2 separate regions of the Homo sapiens genome follow, and region 1 is linked to region 2. Evidence: promoter capture Hi-C in 16 types of primary human blood cells and fetal thymus (Javierre and others, 2016). All regions are on one chromosome and are shown on one strand. The core of a region is centred on a gene start or on the middle of the fragment in contact, and the rest is flanking DNA. Distances in the headings are between cores, read along the strand shown. Region 1 has its middle 72 kb from the start of RUSC2. Region 2 holds the start of UNC13B (unc-13 homolog B).

The links. The method cuts DNA at HindIII sites, captures the fragments that hold promoters and counts their contacts. A CHiCAGO score of 5 or more calls a contact.
Region 1: a fragment that was not itself captured here is called in contact with the fragment with the promoter of UNC13B in region 2 in 1 of 17 cell types (M2 macrophages); the score reaches 6.6 in M2 macrophages.

What each region holds. Positions count from the first base shown.
Region 1 is chr9:35,416,878-35,419,652 of GRCh38, reverse strand. It overlaps the pseudogene ATP8B5P. Among named protein-coding and RNA genes, the nearest start is that of RUSC2, 72 kb to the left of the region's middle. The HindIII fragment of the contact is 836 bases long and covers 946-1,781 here.
Region 2 is chr9:35,160,703-35,163,402 of GRCh38, reverse strand. UNC13B (unc-13 homolog B) reads right to left here and starts at 1,394. Exons shown (of 40, transcript NM_001371189.2): 1 at 1,098-1,394. The coding sequence starts at 1,119. RefSeq lists a silencer at 1,399-1,528. The HindIII fragment of the contact is 6,795 bases long and covers 320-2,700 here.

The sequences.
Region 1 (2,775 bases), core at 114-2,613, 260 kb before region 2:
ACTACTGTCATTCATTTAAAAGAATTTTTAAATTTCCATCTTGATTTCATTGTTAACTCAAAAATAATTCAGGAGCAGATTGTTTAATTTCCATGTATTTGTATAGTTTTGAGGGTTTCTTTTGCAGTTAATTTCTACTTTTATTCCACTGTGGTCTGAGAAAATACTTGATATAATTTTGATGTTTATAAATTTATTAAGACTTGTTTTGTGGCCTATCATATGGTCTATCTTGGAGAATGTTAAATGTATTGATGAGAAGAATGTATATTGTGCATATCTTGGATAGAACGTTCTGTAAATATCTGTTAGGTCCATTTGTTTGAGAGTGTCATTTAAAGTCAATTTTTTTTGTTGTTGTTGACTTTGTCTTGATGATCTCTCTAGCACTGTCAGTGGAATACTGAAGTTCCCCACTATTATTATGTTGCTATCCATCTCATTTAGTAGGTCTAGCGGTAACTGTTTTACGAACCTGGGAGCTCCAGCGTTAGGTGCATATAAATTTAGGATTGTAATACCTTCTCGTTGGATTGAGCCTTATATCATTGTATAATTACCTTGTCTTTTTTTCACTGTTGTTGCTTTAAGGTCTATTTTATTTTAGATAAGAATAGCCACTCCTGCTTGCTTTTGGTTTCCATTTACATGGAGTATCTTTTTCTACCCCTTTACCTTGAGTTTATATAAATCCTTACATGTTAGGTGAATCTCTTGCAGACAGCAGATATTTGGTTTGTGATTTTTTTAATCCATTCTGCCAATCTGTATCATTTAAGTGGAGCATTTAAGCAATTTATATGTGACATTAATATTGAGAGGTGAGGTACTGTTCCATTCATCATGTTGTTATCTAGATACTTTGTATTTTTCATTGTGTTATTGTTTCATAGGTTTTGTTAGTTTTATGCTTTCCAGAGGTCCTATTTTGCTGCCTATCAAGCTTTTGTTTCAAGATTTAGAACTCTTTTTAGAATTTCTTGTAGGGCTGGTATGGTAGTGACAAATTCCCTCATCATTTGTCTGAAAATGACTTTATTTCTCCTTCATTTATGAAACTTAATTTTGCTAGATACAAAATTCTTGGCTGACAGTTACTCTGTTTAAGGAGGCTAAAGATAGGACCCCAATCCCTTCTGGCTTGTAAGGTTTCTGCTGAGAAGTCTTCTGTTAGTCTGATGGGTTTTCCTTTACAGGTTAACTGATGGTTTTGTCTCACTGCTCTTAGAATTCTTTCCTTCACATCGACTTTAGATAGCCTGATGACTATATGCTTGGTAATGTCCTTTTTGCAAGGAATCTCCCAGGATTTCTTTACGCTTCTTGTATTTGGATATCTAAATCTCTAGCAAGGTCAGAGAAGTTTTCCTCATTTATTCCTTCAAATAAGTTTTCCAAACTTTTTGCTTTTTCTTCTCCTTCAGGAACATCAATTATTATTAGGTTTGGCCATTTTACTTAATTCCATATTTTTGGAGACTTTGTTCATTTATTTTTATTCTTTTTTATTTTTTCTGATTGGGTTAATTTGAAAGCCTTGTCTTCAAGCTCTGAAATTCTTTCTTCTGGTTGTTCTAGTCTATTTTTAAATCTTTCCATTGCATTTTGTAATTCCCTAAATGTGTCTTTCATTTATGGAAGTTCTGATTAGCTATTCTTCAAGATCTCTATCTCTTTAGAAAATTTTTCATTCATATCCTGAATTTTTTTTTTTTAATTTCTTTGTGTTGGCTTTCACCTTTCTCTGGTATCTCCTTGTACTCAAGGAAATAATCAAAGCTTAATAATCAACCATTCGAATTCTTTATCTGGTATTTCAAATATTTCATCTTGGCTGGGTGTGGTGGCTCACACCTGTAATCCCAGCACTTTGGGAGGCCAAGGCGGGTGGATCACCTGAGGTCAAGAGTTCGAGACCAGCCTGGCCAACATGGTGAAACCTTGTCTCTACTAAAAATACACACACAAAAATAGCTGGGAGTGGTGGCACACACCTGTAGTCCCAGCTACTTGGGGAGGCTGAGGCAGGAGAATCGCTTGAACCCAGGAGGCGGAGGTTGCAGTGAGCCAAGATCACACCACTGCACTCTAGCTTGGGTGACAGAGGGAGACCCCATCACAAAAGAAAAAAAAAAATTCATCTTTGTTTGGATCCATCACTGGAGAGCTAATGTGATCTTTTGGGGGTGCTACAGAACCCTGTTTTGCCATGTTACCAGAATTATTTTTCTGGTTCCTTCTCTTTTGGGTAGACCATTTCTTCTAGTTATTATAGAATTATTTTGATTGTGTTTTTTAAAAATTTCTTTTTACCCTCTTAAGGATCTGACTTTAATGTTTACTGTAGCCTAATTCGGCTCTTGGTGCTTTCAGGGGTGAAGATTCTACGTAAGTTCCTTGGTTACTGGCAGTCTTTGTATGATGGCCTTCTCAGATGCTAGTTTGTAGTAACAATGTGCACAGTATGTGCGCAAGTTTACTGTCTCACAGGGGGTTGGAACAGCAGAGTTCTCTTGAAGCTTACTTATTTCATTCCCCTGTGGTATACACCTTTTTGTTTACTTATTTTTCCCTAGTATTTTATTTACTGGTTGAACAGTCTGGGCTTCAGGCCAGCAGAGGAGGTATCCCTGTGTAGAAACCAGTTGTGGCTGAAGCAGGTGGGTAAATGCAGTACCCAATGGTGGGCAGAGGTCCCAAGTTTGTCAGAGGTGGCTGGGGGAGCTCTCAGTGAGAAACACTGAGGTTTTATCAGGCAGAAGGGTGGGAGCCACC
Region 2 (2,700 bases), core at 145-2,644:
AGTGGAAGAGAACAGAGCAAAGCAGTTTCATCTGCCAGTAGCTGGGGGAAACATCGTTATTGGAGAAATCACAAACAACAACAATGCTTCTAATCTGTAGAGCCAAAAGAAATATGAACTCTCCAGTAAAAGATATCAGGTAAAGGCTCTAGTTGATAAATGCTCTCTCATTCATAATCAAGACACATCAGATATGATAGGCTGTAACCTGAATTTCCCGAGATCAAATTCAATGGCTAATCCAAACCCTGTGTTTTCCTGATCAGATAATCTCTCTGAAGTCACAGTACTTGCATTCATTCAAAACCAGCATTAAGCTTCTACTACGTCAGACACCAGGAATACAAAAACTAATAAGAAACAGTCTCTACCCACATAGAACTTAGTTCGCGTACCATGCCTCATCTTAAACCCCAAAGCTCTTGCTTTAAGATATCTTCTTAGATGGGTCAAGTGTCCTCAGGGGAAAAGCAATAATGGCCCTTCACCTTGAGTTACTGTGAGGCAAGCTAAAATAAAAATAAAAATAAATCATACCTCTTATCCTCAAAAGCAGTCACCACATCCTCCCAAGTGGAACAGAAGAATAATCTTAGCCTATACTACCGGTTAGTGTTCAGGGAAGTGGCAGGGGACAAGACAAGCAATAGAAGGGATGTGACAGCTGTACCACTAACGCATTCAAAGTGTGATAAAAAGAACCTGCTACTAAGCATACTGTAGCGTTACGGTGCGAGGAGGAGGAAAAGAATGAGAGGCTGCCCACCATTCACAGGCACCAACCATCCGCGGTCTTCTAACTCGTCCACTCTCACTAGAGAACCCCAGTCACTGTTTAATAGGATCTGAGCCTGCAGTCCAACAACATTGTCACATGGCTACCAGAATGGAGAGCTAATCGTCCCTTGCAGGAGCTTGGGGGAAAACAAGAAAGTGGAAAGAACTCAAGTGATTGTTAAGTGATTGCCAAAATAATAGACCCCCAAAGCACGGACGGGATGTAAAGTTTGGGTGAGACGGTCACCGGACGTCCACTGGAAGGGTGCGGGGACCTCTACGCCGACACCCCGCCTCCCCGCCTCAGTCCGCGCACTCACCGCGCACGCAGAGCAGTGACATGGCCGAGGATCGGGCAAGCCTCTGCCGCGCCCCAGCCGCGCCGGACCGCTCCCTCTTTCCTCTCAGCAGGTGCCGCGACTGCTCTCGTTACCGGCCCCACGGGTCTGGCAGCTCCTCATGGTCCCGGTCGCAGGTAGCGTCCCGCCGCTGCCTCGGACCCGCCCCAAATCTCACCGTCTGAGCGAACTCCGGGTAGCGGTGAGTACCGGCCGGCAGGCTGGGGACTGGGCGCGGCACAGCGACGCCATCGCTGGGAGGTAGGAGCTGCCGGGACTCCCTCCCGTCATTCCACCCGGGATCCGCGCGAGCGCCTGGGCGGAGCCAACCCGTGGTGCCCCGCCCCCCAGCCAATTAACTCACGCCCAGTCCACCGACCCCGCCCCCCCCCGCGAGCACGTAGGAGGCGGGGTCCCCTTCCTCCTTTCTTTCTTGCGATCCTGAAGGAAGCTCCGCCCACTAATCAGGCTTACTGCAGGGAGCAAGGGGTTGACCCTCAGTTGTGTGACGCGAGAATGGAAGCCCTCTGTTCCTCCTGCATGAGCGGGGCTTCCACCCAAGAACAGATTCTTTTCATTGAAGGATTTCCACTGGACTTTCTTAGAGTCTAGCGGTCATAGCTGACAGCCTGTAATTTTAAGTTAACGAAGTCGCACCGCACAGCAAAGTTAAGTTTTGTTTAGCAACTAGGGCAAAAGACAAAACTGAGTGGGCATAAAGTATGTCTGGAGACCTCAGTTCTTATCTAGACCGTTTTTTATGCTCATCATTGTATCTCCAATGTCTGGAATAGTGCCTAGTGTATGGTAATCAGTCCGTAAATATTTACTGAATGAAGGATGGTAACCACGGAGGGATTGTGAGTGGAGATACCTCTGATCTTTGACAAATCTCCTATCCATGCTTGGTACCAACATGAGCTAACTCCATGGCTCAAACCAACAGGACAATTTGCTAAGGTCTAGGAGCACCCCCTCCAGAGAATCCCTGATCTCCCAAAATTTGGTCGAGATCTAAAGTTCATTTTGTTGTACAACTCCCTCTATTATTATTATTATTATTATTATTATTATTATTATTTTGGAGTTTTACTTGCTTCCAACAAGGAAGGCAAGTTTTCCTGCTTCCATGACGAGGGAAGGCAGGTAACTCTTTTATGGAGTTTGAGCTCACTTCCAACAGGGAAGATGAGGGGTTTTTTTCCTACTTCTGGGATGGTAGACAGCCGTTTTCAGCCTGAGACGCACCCCTAGGTAAGTAGCTGAATAGGGATTTTTGTCTTGGCTAAAGTTAACAACCAGCTGGTCTTAATTTCTGCTTACCATTAGAGTGCTCAGTGATCATATTGTTGGGTTTTTTTTTATTTTGTTTGTCTTTTTCCCATTGACCAACTCTACTTCACTTGGTCAAATCCAAGTGAGAATTCCAAATTATGGGTAACAAGGCCTATCTAATTTGAGTAAAATTCCTCACAGCTGCAAAAGAAAAAACAAACAGAAAACAAAAAACCATGTATTTGGTTTCTGTGTTTGCTTCCTGGTCTTAAAAATTAAACTGTTCTTAGGCCGGGCGCGGTGGCTCACA